Regions from separate parts of the Homo sapiens genome. Here region 2 is linked to region 1. The links are contacts of gene promoters, found by promoter capture Hi-C in human tissues and cell types (Jung and others, 2019). All regions are on one chromosome and are shown on one strand. The core of a region is centred on a gene start or on the middle of the fragment in contact, and the rest is flanking DNA. Distances in the headings are between cores, read along the strand shown.

What was found. The method cuts DNA at HindIII sites, captures the fragments that hold promoters and counts their contacts. A contact is called where the count stands out against the background at its distance.
Region 2: a contact is called between a fragment that was not itself captured here and the fragment with the promoter of WBP1L in region 1, in 1 of the 25 tissues and cell types used here (mesendoderm cells).

Annotation. Positions count from the first base shown.
Region 1 is chr10:102,742,002-102,748,098 of GRCh38, reverse strand. It overlaps WBP1L (WW domain binding protein 1 like), which reads right to left and starts at 4,151. Exons shown (of 4, transcript NM_001083913.2): 1 at 3,956-4,151. The coding sequence starts at 4,045. SFXN2 (sideroflexin 2) reads right to left here. Exons shown (of 12, transcript NM_178858.6): 12 at 4,607-6,097. RefSeq lists enhancers at 3,285-3,514, 4,455-4,504 and a silencer at 4,015-4,174. The HindIII fragment of the contact is 7,220 bases long and covers 1,076-6,097 here.
Region 2 is chr10:103,320,584-103,326,425 of GRCh38, reverse strand. The region is part of intron 8 of PCGF6 (polycomb group ring finger 6); the gene reads left to right. Among named protein-coding and RNA genes, the nearest start is that of PCGF6, 28 kb to the left of the region's middle. The HindIII fragment of the contact is 7,312 bases long and covers 1-5,842 here.

The sequences.
Region 1 (6,097 bases), core at 2,902-5,401:
ATTTTTAGTAGAGACGGGGTTTCACTGTGTTAGCCAGGATGGTCTCAATCTCCTGATCTCGTGATCCGCCTGCCTCGGCCTCCCAAAGTGCTGGGATTACAGGTGTGAGCCACCGTGCCAGGCCCAGCTCAAAGTTTTAAGCCTGGCAAAGGAAAGGTAAGGACTGCATCTCTAGAGATTTGTCCCTAAACCACTGGCTGAGTTACCCTATTAAAAAAAGACATTTCTACCAAAACTTTGTTTTAAATAACATAGTCAAATATTCTGTTTAGGCTGGGCAGAGTGGCTCATGCCTGTAATCCCAACACTCTGGGAGGCTGAGATGGGCAGATCGCTTGAGCCCAGGAGTTTGCGACCGGCCTGGGCAACATGGCGAAACCCCATCTCTACAGAAAAATACAAAAATTAGCAGGGCGTGGTGGCATGCACCTGTAGTCCCAGTTACTCAGGAGGCTGAGGTGGGAGGCTCGTTTGAGCCTGGGAGGTCGAGGCTGCAGTGATCCAAGATCACATCACACCACTACACTCCAGCCTGGGCAACAGAGTGAGATCCTGTCTCAAAAACAAAACAAAAACAACAACAACAAAAACAAACATTCTGGTTAAATCTAAACAACCAAAAGAAACTCTATGTATCTCAATGATAATTTAACTGGAGGAAACAAACGCCAAGGCTGTCGGAGCCTTACTATTTGGAGCATCTACTGTTTTCTCATTCTTTTTTTTTTTTTTTTTTTTTTGAGACGGAGTCTCGCTCTGTCACCAGGCTAGAGTGCAGTGGCATGATCTTGGCTCACCACAACCTCTACCTCCCACGTTCAAGCGATTCTTCTGCCTCAGCCTCCCGAGTAGCTGAGACTACAGGTGTGCCACCATGCCTGGCTAATTTTTGTATTTTTAGTAGAGACAGGGTTTCACCATGTTGGCCAGAATGGTCTTGATCTCCTGACCTTGTGATCTGCCTGCCTTGGCCTCCCAAAGTGCTGGGATTACAGGGGTGAGCCACCATGCCCAGCCTTTTTCATTCTTTATAGATTTAAGGATTCACGTCTGTGAGTTGTAATGTCATAACCTGTAGGAGAGTTAAGTCTAAGTTCCTAACCACAGAATGAACTAGCTGATGAACTTTCCAGGGCCTGCCTGCATAAACAAGAAATGGCTGTTTCAGTGCAGAGCTGGTAACAGGGAAAGCAAGTTGCCTAGTATCATTTATTTCTGATGGTAAATGTGTATGTAAAAAAAAGATTGTGCATGTAAAAAAAAGATTGTATTGTAAGTAGATCAATTTTGTGGGAGAAATGCAATAAGGTACCAATACCATTATTCGATACAGAATGAGTATAGTAAGTCCTCCTGAATTCAAAGTTAGCTGGACTTCATTGTTGAATTAAGGACCATGGGTACTTAAAGTATGCCCTGTGCCAAAATGGCCTTGGGATTTTTTTTTCCTTACTGATTTGTACAAGCAACCCCTTCCCCCACCCCCCCCAAAAAAACCCAAAAAAATACACTGACTAAATTGCGGTGGATTCAGAGTTAATAATTATATAGTAACTTGCATTCCGAAGGTTAAAATTCAAAACAGAAATCTCACTATAGATATCTAGTACTCCCAGACAGAAAGAGACAGGAGTATAAGGTGGGGGATGGAATTGTATAGGGAGCGTCAGGAGTGAGGGTATGTGGGGGCTGGTTAGGAAGAGGGCCACTGCTCATTACGAAAACTTTCCCTTCTCTGCAGGAATTGTAACCGTGTAACAGCTGTTGGTCAGTGATAGCATTCATCCAAATGGAACAAAGTACAAAAGACACCTGTCCCCAAAATTAAGTATTAGAAGTGCCACAGATATAAGAAAGCAGCCTGTGGTTTGCAAACTGCAATTAGAATATAACATTAACAATCCCCTTCCACATGTTCACAACACCTCCCAGGCTCCACGACCTGGTAGGAACCTCCACTTTCCATCATCCCCGTTGCTGAAAAAGTGGATCTAGTTCCTATCTTTGACCAGCCCATCTCCAAAGGCTCTGACATTCCTAAACCAAACCTCTACCGATGTTATTTATTGGTTACTGGGGACAGCCTTTTCGAGATACTTACAGAAACAGACATGTGCAAAGGAAAAGTAAATTCTGTATTTACTATATTCTATATTTTGTTGTCAATACCTATACTTAACTTTACTGGTCCTGAGGGCTATAACATTTCTAGTAAACAAAAAAAATATATTTCTTCTGCCAGTTTATGATTTCCACTGGAAAAACAACCCCAACAAAGGCTAAAACAGAAGGGTCCCAACCCTCGAAAAGGGAATACACTGGGCTAGAAAATGAGCTACATTCCTTTCACATGGTATTTCTAGTATACACAAACATATCCTGAGGAAAAATTAGACACTTCAATGCATAAATAAATTGTGGTTTACAGATAACAGAATGTTACTTGGTCATGAACAGGAATGAAGTACTAGTACATGCTACGATGTGGATGGGCCTTATAAACATTACGCTAAGTGAAAGGAGCCAGGCACAAAGACCACATATTGTAGGATCCCGTTTATATAAAATATCCAGAATAGATAAATCCATAGAGACTGAAAGCAGACGGGTGGTTGCCAGGGGCTGGGGGAAAAGGGAGACAGAGAGTAACTGCTTAGTAGGGACGAGGTTTTCTATTGGGGTGATGAAAATGTTTTGGAACTAGATAGAGGTGGTAGTTGCACAACATTGTAAGTGTACTAAATGCCACTGAATTGTTCACTTTAAAATGGTTTTTGTCATGTGAATTTCAACTTATTTTTTAATCAGTATTTTAAAATAGAGGATAATGGGCAAAACAAGATGTATTTGTGAAAAGGCAGCCCTAAAACTCCTAGGGAAAAGATAAGTATTTTTGCTGGCACTCAGTTTCTGCTCTTGTTCACAACACAAGTTCAAGCGCTAAGTTGTATAAACTTTGCCACTACGCTATGCGTCTATGTGTGTATGCCTTTCTGAAAAAACGGGGAAAAGAACAGAAAGTGAAGAAAAAAGAATCATAAAGCTTTGCCACATGCAAGGAAGGAGGGGTGATTGCCCCCACTGCACCCCACCCAACTTGGCACCAGGAGTAACGCTCCCATTAGGGTTTTGAAATGCCAGCTGGAGCTGGAATCAGCACAAGCAAGCTTCTCTGCCTGGATAAAGAGCAAGCCACCCAGCAAGAAAAGCTAGGGTGCTCCATTTGCTGCCCATATTGGCATCAGAACCACCCTCTGGTCAAAAGCCCTGAGCTGGCTCAGATCAGCATCCGTGACTTGCTCTCCCAGGCCAGCCAGCCTAACAGCAAGAGCTTGTTACAGCTCAAGTGTGCTCCTCCTCCTGAGGGGTTCCACTCTGTTTCATCCCACCTGCCTTCTGAGAGTCCTCCCTCCAACCAAGTGCGCCATGGCTTACAGATTTTAAAATGGGGCCAAGTCTCTCCCAGGAACATAGTAATTTTTTTTAAACGTACTAAGATGCCCTCGGAACTTTCCCCAGTCCATCCTTAAAGAAATATCCTCAGGATCCCCTCCCTCACAGGCCAACTCAATAGCCTGTGTACCCCTACACACACAGACGTACATACTGCATTACTGCCTGGGACACCTGCTCCACAGAGGGACACGAATAAGGCCCACATCCTCAGCTTGGCACCGCTATCCAGCCACAGTCACCCCAGCCCACCTAACCAACCTGCCGTCTCAAACGCCCCTCACTCGCTTGGCATCATGCCTCTGCCACCTCCTTGACACCAAAACTGTCACAGGTGTCCCTCAGCTAAATACCGACGCCCCTTTAGATCCTGTCCACGCCAGGCATAGACGCCCCTCTCGGGACCCCTCAACTCTTGGCAACAACACTCCTTCAGACCCCTCCAGCCAGGCCTCGACGACCCCCAGGACCCAACATGGCCCAGACGCCCCCTCCCCCTTACCTGCGGGGGTTCAGCCCTGGCTGACAAGGGGCTGGGCAGCGCCTGGAGGAGCAGGAGCGCCATGCCACCCAGGAGCCTTCTCCTCTCCATCCCCCTCCTGCTCCTGCTCCTCCGCCACGGCGCCGCCACCTCCCTCCTCCTCCTCCCTCTCCTCCTCTACCCTCTTCTTCCTTCTTCCCTTCTTTTCCTGTTTGACGCTCCCCTCCCGCTTCCGGCTCTGCTCCACCCCGCCCCGCGCAAAACACCCTCCCAGACACGCGAGAGACTCTCCAGTTCCAGCGCTTCATTGGCCTTTGCCCTTTGTCCATTGATCAATGTAGCTGTCGATCAAATATAAGTCCCGCCTTCCCCTGAAGACGAAGCGATGCAGCCAATAAAAAGTAGGAGGAAGCCGGACCATCTTGAATGCTGCGAAGAAGTGTAAAATTCGTCCCAACCCGCAGAGAGTGGCGGAAGCAGCTTCATAAGGGGGCGGGGCCACCCAGGTGGATGGAAAAGTCTATTTCTGATGTAGCCATCTTGAGTGTGGCGGAAGTACTAGTTTTCCAGTTTTCCACATCAAAAAAAGAAAAAAGGTTTAATGTTTCTCAAGGGTGTTGGAAAATAAATTATTCCTGAAAGGTAACCAGGCGCTCCTGAAGAGGAAAACAATTGCAATGTAAAAATATTTTAATGTCTTTTGTCTTGAAGCACAGCACTATTACCAGGATGCCTCTCTTGGTCTCAACTGCCCAAATAGCAGCTTAGGTCCGTTTGAATTCCCTAGAAGATAGTACCTTTATCTGAGGCATAGTGCTTCGTCACCCCAAGTTCGACGGACAAAATTCTGGTTCTACTTCACAAATTGCTCTGAAATCCATCATCCATTGCTTCAATCCATGTTCTTCTAGCTAAATACAAATGGCTTCCCTGCTGCCCTGCAAGTTGACAATTCTTCCTCTCAAATTTCCGCCACACACTACAACCATACCACATTAAACCAAATATTACTATATCATGGCCTCTTCTTTTAAATACTTCATCTACCTACAGAATAGAGAGTCCAAACTTCCCAACACGGTCCTCTCTGTGACTTCGTCCCTGTCTACTTCTCTTTATCTCACCTCTCACCACTACATTTTCCCACACATTCCACTCACACTGACCATTGAAGAGATGCCCAGTAACTTCATTTACATATTACAGATACAGTTCCCTGCTTACAAACTCCTAGCCCCATCTCCTTGCTGCTTCTTCTGGATTCTTGTAACACTTATATCTGCGTGCCTGGTTTGCAGTTTTTTGTACAGCATACCAGGTCTTTCTTCTTCTTCTTTTAAAGCCTATAATATCCTGTACAAGGCTCAACCAGAGCTTGATCAATGTTGGTAAAATAGCCAGGTGTGGTGGCTCATGCTTATAATCCTAGCCCTTTGGGAGGCTGAGGCAGGTAGATCCCTTGAGCTCAGGAGTTTGAAACCAGCCTGGGCAACATGGAGAGAACCCTGTCTCTACAAAAATAAAAAAACTAAATTAGCCAAATTAGCCAAGCATGGTGGTGCACACTTGTAGTCCCAGCTACTTGGGAGGCTGAGGTGGGACAATCACCAGAGCTAGGGAGATTGAAGCTGCAATGAGCCTTGATTGTGCCACTGTACTCCAGCCTGGGCAACAGAGTGAGACCCTGTCTCAAAAAAAAAAAAAGGCCAGGTGCGGTGGCTCCTGCCTGTAATCCCAGCACTTTGGGAGGCCGAGGTGGGCGGATCACATGGTCAGGAGTTCGAGCCTGGCCAACATTGTGAAACCCAATCTCTACTAAAAATACAAAAAATTAGCCAGGCGTGGTGGTGCATGCCTGTAGTCCCAGCTACTCAGGAGGCTAAAGCAGAAGAATCGCTTGAACCTGGGAGGCAGAGGTTGCAGTGAGCCAAGACTGTGCCACTGCACTCCACCCTAGGTGACAGAGTGAGACTCTGTCTCAAAAAAAAAAGAAAAAAAAAAGTTGGTAAAATAAATGGACAAAGGAAGACCCATGGCAAATAACACAGTTGACTTTAGCAGTCAATTTCCTCTCAAAAACCTGTCAAAGTGTTTTACAGCCTGGCCCAGTCTAGCCCACATCTGAGCCCAGAGGAAGTTGTTCTTGGCTTAAGTGTTGGAAAA
Region 2 (5,842 bases), core at 2,181-4,680, 580 kb before region 1:
TATGATGTTGTAGACATTGTTTTTTTTTTTTTTTTTTGAGATGGAGTCTTGCTCTGTCGCCCAGGCTGGAGTGCAGTGGCACGATCTCAGCTCACTGCAAGCTCAGCCTCCCGGGTTCACGCCATTCTTCTGCGTCAGCCTCCCGAGTAGCTGGGACTACAGGCACCTGCCACTGCACCCGGCTGATTTTTTTTTTGTATTTTTAGTAGAGAAGGGGTTTCACTGTGGTCTCGATCTCCTGACCTCGTGATCCGCCCGCCTCGGCCTCCCAAAGTGCTGGGATTACAGGCATGAGCCACCGCGCCTGGACATTGTTAATGCTAATTGAATATTGATACATAGTGATTCACACCTCCAGCTTTAATCACATTTGATTTACTGTCCATTTCTTTTTTTGAGACAGGGTCTGTTTCTGTTGCCCAGGCTGAAGTACATTGACACGATCATGGCTCACTACAACCTTGAGGTTTTCCTGGGCTTGGGTGGTCCTCCCTCCTGTCTCAGCCTCCTGAGTAGTTAGGACTAGAGGCACATGCCACCATGCCCAGCTAATTTTTTTTTTTTTTTTTTTTTAAGAGATGCGGTCTTGCTTTTGTCCAGGCTGGTCTCAAACTCCTGGCCTCAAGTAATCCTCTTGCCTCAGCTTCCCAAAGCACTAGGATTATAGGAGTTAGCCACTGTGCCAGGCTAGTATCCATTTCCTACTGCCACTGATGGCAATCTATTAGTGTCATAGAAAAGCTGAAGATAGAAATATTAAAGAGGCCTCAGTTCCAGCTCTTTCCATTTTGGTAGTAGAGAAAAATATTGCTTATCATCCGCTTTCTTTATAGGACATCCTTGCATTTATTAGTTGTTCAAGTATAACAAGCAAGCTCGGCCAGGCGCAGTGGCTCATGCCTGTAATCCCAGCACTTTGGGAGGCTGAGGTGGGTGGATCACGAGGTCAGGAATTCCAGCCTGACCAACATGGTGAAACCCTATCTCTACTAAAAAATACAAAAATTAGCCGGACCTGTTGGCACACACCTGTAATCCCAGCTACTCAGGAGGCTGAGGCAGGAGAATTGCTTGAACCTGGCAGGCAGAGGTTACAGTGAGCCAAGATTGCGCTACTGCACTCCAGCCTGGACGACAGAGCGAGACTCCGTCTCAAAACAAAACAAAACAAACAAAAAAACAAGCAAAGCTCAGGACACCTAGAGAAGTGAAATATTTTTATCTAATAGGGACCCTATTATTTTATTTTATTTTATTTTATTTTATTTTATTTTATTTTATTTATTATTTTGAGACTGAGTCCCACTCTGTTGCCCAGGCTGGAGTGCAATGGCGTGATCTCGGCTCTCTGCAACTTCCGCCCCCCGGGTTCAGGCGATTCTCCTGCCTCAGCCTTCCTGAGTAGCTGGGATTACAGGCAGGTGCCACCATGCCAGGCTAATTTTGTATTTTTAGTAGAGATGGGGTTTCTCCATATTGGTCTGGCTGGTCTCGAACTCCTGACCTCAGGTGATCCGCCTACCTCGGCCTCCCAATGTGCTGGGATTACAGGCGTGAGCCACCATGCCCAGCTGACCCTATTAGTTTTTTTTATGGATTAAAAGAGATCTCCTGTTCTAGCTATGTAATATTTTCTTTTTTTTTTTTTTTGGTTTTTTTTTTTTTTGAGGCGGAGTCTCACTCCGTTGCCCAGGCTGGAGTGCAGTGGGGCGGTCCCGGCTCACTGCAACCTCCGCCTCCCGGGTTCAAGTGATTCTCCTGCCTCAGGCTCCTGAGTAGCTGGGATTACAGGCCTGTGCCACCACACCTGGCTAATTTTTGTATTTTTAGTAGAGACGGGGTTTCACCATGTTGTTGGTCAGGCTGGCCTCCATCTCCTGACCTCGTGATCCTCCCGCCTCGGCCTCCCAAAGTGCTGGGATTACAGGCATAAGCCACCGCGCCCAGCCATAATATTTTCTTCTTGTTGTACGATGGAAACCTCAAACTTCATGTATCATTGAACATAAAAGTAAAATATACTCATAGTTCTAGTTCTGTGGTCCAGTTAGTAAAAATGAACATTTATATAGCTTTGCTTTTTCTTTTTTTTTTTTTCATTAGTCAAATTTAAAAAGCCTTTTTGTTATTCTCCATCATGTGTTAAGTTTTATAGAATAATTTTTTATCTAAAATACTGTGTATTGTGGCTGGGCACAGTGACTCACCTATATAATCCCAGTACTTTGGGAGGCCAAGGCAGGTGGATCATTTGAGGTCAGGAGTTTGAGACCAGCCTGGCCAACACGGTGAAACCCTGTCTCTACTAAAAAATGAAAAATAGCTTGGCATGGTGGCACACTCCTGTAATCCCAGCTACTCGGGAGGCTGAGGCTGGAGAATTGCATGAACCTGGGAGACGGAGGTTGCAGTTAGCCTAGATCATGCCATTGCACTCCAGCCTGGGCGACAGAGTGATAATCTGTCTCAAAAAAATAGTAAAATAAAATAATAAAATACTGTATTGTTAGTTAAATTAATAGATATGTTAAAACAGTGACTGGCCATGTGTAGTGGCTCATGCCTGTAATCCCAGCACTTTGGGAGGTCGAGGCAGGTGGATCACCTGAGGTCAGGAGTTCAAGACCAGTCTGGCCAACGTGGCGAAACCCCGTCTCTACCAAAAATTAGCCAGGTATGGTGGCGCACACCTGTAGTCCTGGCTACTCAGGAGGCTGAGGCAAGAGAATCGCTATTACCCGGGAGGTGGAGATTGCAGTGAGTCAAGATCATGCCACTGCACTCCAACCTGGGCGACAAGAGGGAGACTCTATATCAAAAAAAAGAAAAGGGGCCGGACGCGGTGGCTCACACCTGTAATCCCAACACTTTGGGAGGCCAAGGCAGGTGGATCACCTGAGGTCAGGAGTTCAAGACCAGTCTGACCAACATGGTAAACCGCATCTCTACTAAAAATATAAAATCAGCCGGGCGTGGTGGCGCATGCTTGTAATCCCAGCTACTTGAGAGGCTGAGGCAGGAGAATCACTTGAACCCAGGAGGCGGAGGTTGCAGTGAGCCGAGATGGCGCCACTGCACTCCAGCCTGGGCAACAACAGCAAAACTCCAACTCAAAAAAAAAAGTGACTGAAAGTTTGCTAGTGTTTTTAGTACCGATATTTACTGGTAGTAAATATATACTAAATCCAGTGAAATATGACTTCTCTAACTGAGCTTGACATATCCTGGTTATATCTCATGGCAGCTGAAAACTAGAAATGACTTATTTTTACCTTGTAGCCACAGCACACTTGAGGTTATTCTTAGGTTTTTGTTAGAGACAAAGCTGGTTAGTGACTCCTGGATTAAGAATTATGAGTGATCCCATAACAGCCTGTTATTTCTAAAAGCAGAAGACTTGCCCTTATTATAGAAAAAGAAGTGATACCCAGGAGGACCCTCTCTAGAATACAGATTATTCTATGGCTATTTATGTGTCTGTGTGTGTGTATGTTTTGTGTTTTGTGGGTTGTTTTTTTTTTTGTTTTTTGTTTTTTGTTTTTTTTTTGGTGGCAAGGATAACATACTGTGTTGCCCAGGCTGGACTTTTTGTGTGTGTGTGTGATACAGAGTCTTGCTCTGTCACCCATGCTGGAGTGCAGTGGCACAGTCTTGACTCACTGCGGTCTCTACCTCCCGGGTTCCAGCAATTCTCCTGCCTCAGCCTCCCAGGTAGCTGGGATTAGAGGTGCATGCCACCATGCCCGGCTAAATTGTTTGTATTTTTTAGTAGAGATGGGGTTTCATCATTTTGCCCAGGCTGGTCTCAAACTCCTGGCCTCAAGTGATCCTCCTGCCTCAGCCTCCCAAAGTACTGGGATTACAGGCATGAGCCACTGTGCCCAGCCTGTTTTTTTAATTGACAGAAACAAAATATTTTGGGCTGGCCGTGGTGGCTTGCACCTGTAATCCCAGCACTTTGGGAGGCCAAAGTGGATGGATAGCTTGAGCCCAGGAGTTTGAGACCAGCCTGGGCAACATAGCGAAACCCCAGCTCTACAAAAAATACCAAAATTAGCTGCACACAAAATTAAGCGCACACCTGTAATCCTAGTAGTCCTAGCTCCTAGGGAGGCTGAGGTGGGTTGAGCCTGGGAGATCCAGGCTACAGTGATCCATGATTGCACCACTGCACTGAGCCTGAGCGACAGCAATACACTGTCTCAAAAAAAATAAAAATAAGTGAAGTGAAGGCCAGGCAAGGTGGCTCACCCTGTAATCCCAGCACTTTCAGAGGCCGAGGTGGGTGGATCACCTGAGGTCAGGAGTTCAAGACTAGCCTGGCCAACATGGTGTAACCCTGTCCCTAGTAAAAATACAAACATTAGCCGGGTGTGGTGGCACATGCCTATAGTCCCAGCTACTTGGGAAGCTGAGGTGGGAGGATCCCTTGAACCTAGGAAGCGGAGGTTGCAGTGAGCTGAGACCATGCCACTGCACTCCAGCCTGGGTGACAGAGTGAGACTCTGTCTCAAAAAAAAAAAAAGTGAAATGAAATAAATAATATCTATTTATTGTATACAACATGATGTTTTGAAATATGTATACATTGTGGGATGGCAAAATTGAGCTAATTAACATACCATTACCTCACATTTTTTGTGGTGAAAACACTTGAAATTTCTATTCAGCAATTACAATATATTATTATTATTATTATTGTTTGTTTCTTTGTTTTTGAGACGGAGTCTCTGTCACCCAGGCTGGAGTACAGTGGCGCGATCTCGGCTCACTGCAAGCTCCGCCTCCCGGGTTCATGCCATTCTCCTGCCTCAGCCTCCTGAGTAGCTGCGACTACAGGCACCCACCACCACGCCTGGCTAATTTTTTGTATTTTTAGTAGAGACAGGGTTTCACCATTTAGCCAGGATGATCTCGATCTCCTGACCTCGTGATCCGCCCACCTTGGCCTCCCAAAGTGCTGGGATTACAGGCATGAGCCACCGCGCCCAGCCTACAATATATTATTACATATAGTCACCATCTTGTACAGTATTTCTCTTCTAAGTTGATTTTGTTACCTAAAAATGTGGGTTTCTTTTTTGCTTACATCATAGAATTTAAGGCTTTTAGCATTTTGAAATAAAATGATATAAAGGCTCATACCTGTAATCCCAGCTACTCTGGAGCCTGAGGTAGGAGGATCACCTAAGCTTGGGAGGTCAAGGCGGCAGTGCATGATGAGACCCTGTCTCAAAAAGAAAGATATAAAATTTGTTTCAACCTTTAATTTTCTTTGTCAGCTCTTGGCTCTCTAAATAAATATTCTACCACTCAGCTACTGTATAGCTGGTAATGTTCATAAATTATTATTTAACCAAAATGTTAGAATTATCAAATATACAGACCCATTAATTGGGGACTAAAATTGTTGAGGCCTAAATTTAAGGTAGAGTAAGTAATTAAGAGTTACTTCTAATATGAACAAAACATTGAGCTGGTTTGCTAGTCATCAGACTACAATTCTTGGTGTCCTGCAGTCACGAGCCTGCTATGCTGACTTTCTTTGAACCAGTTAGTCCCAGGTGGGAAATGTGTGCATGGTTTACAGATATGTGACCTTCATTTATGGTTATTTACTAACAGGAACGAGTAATTCCCACGGGACTGTTAAACTTTAAAGTTTTTTGTGGCAGATCAAATTTTAAAAACAAGACAATTCCAAAAGTTTAAAAAATACAGATCTTTTTTTTTTTGAGACAAAGTTTCACTGTTTTTGCCCAGGATGGAGTGCAATGGTGCGATGATGTCGGCTCACCGCAACCTCCGCCTCCTGGGTTCAAGCGATTATCCTGCCTCAGCC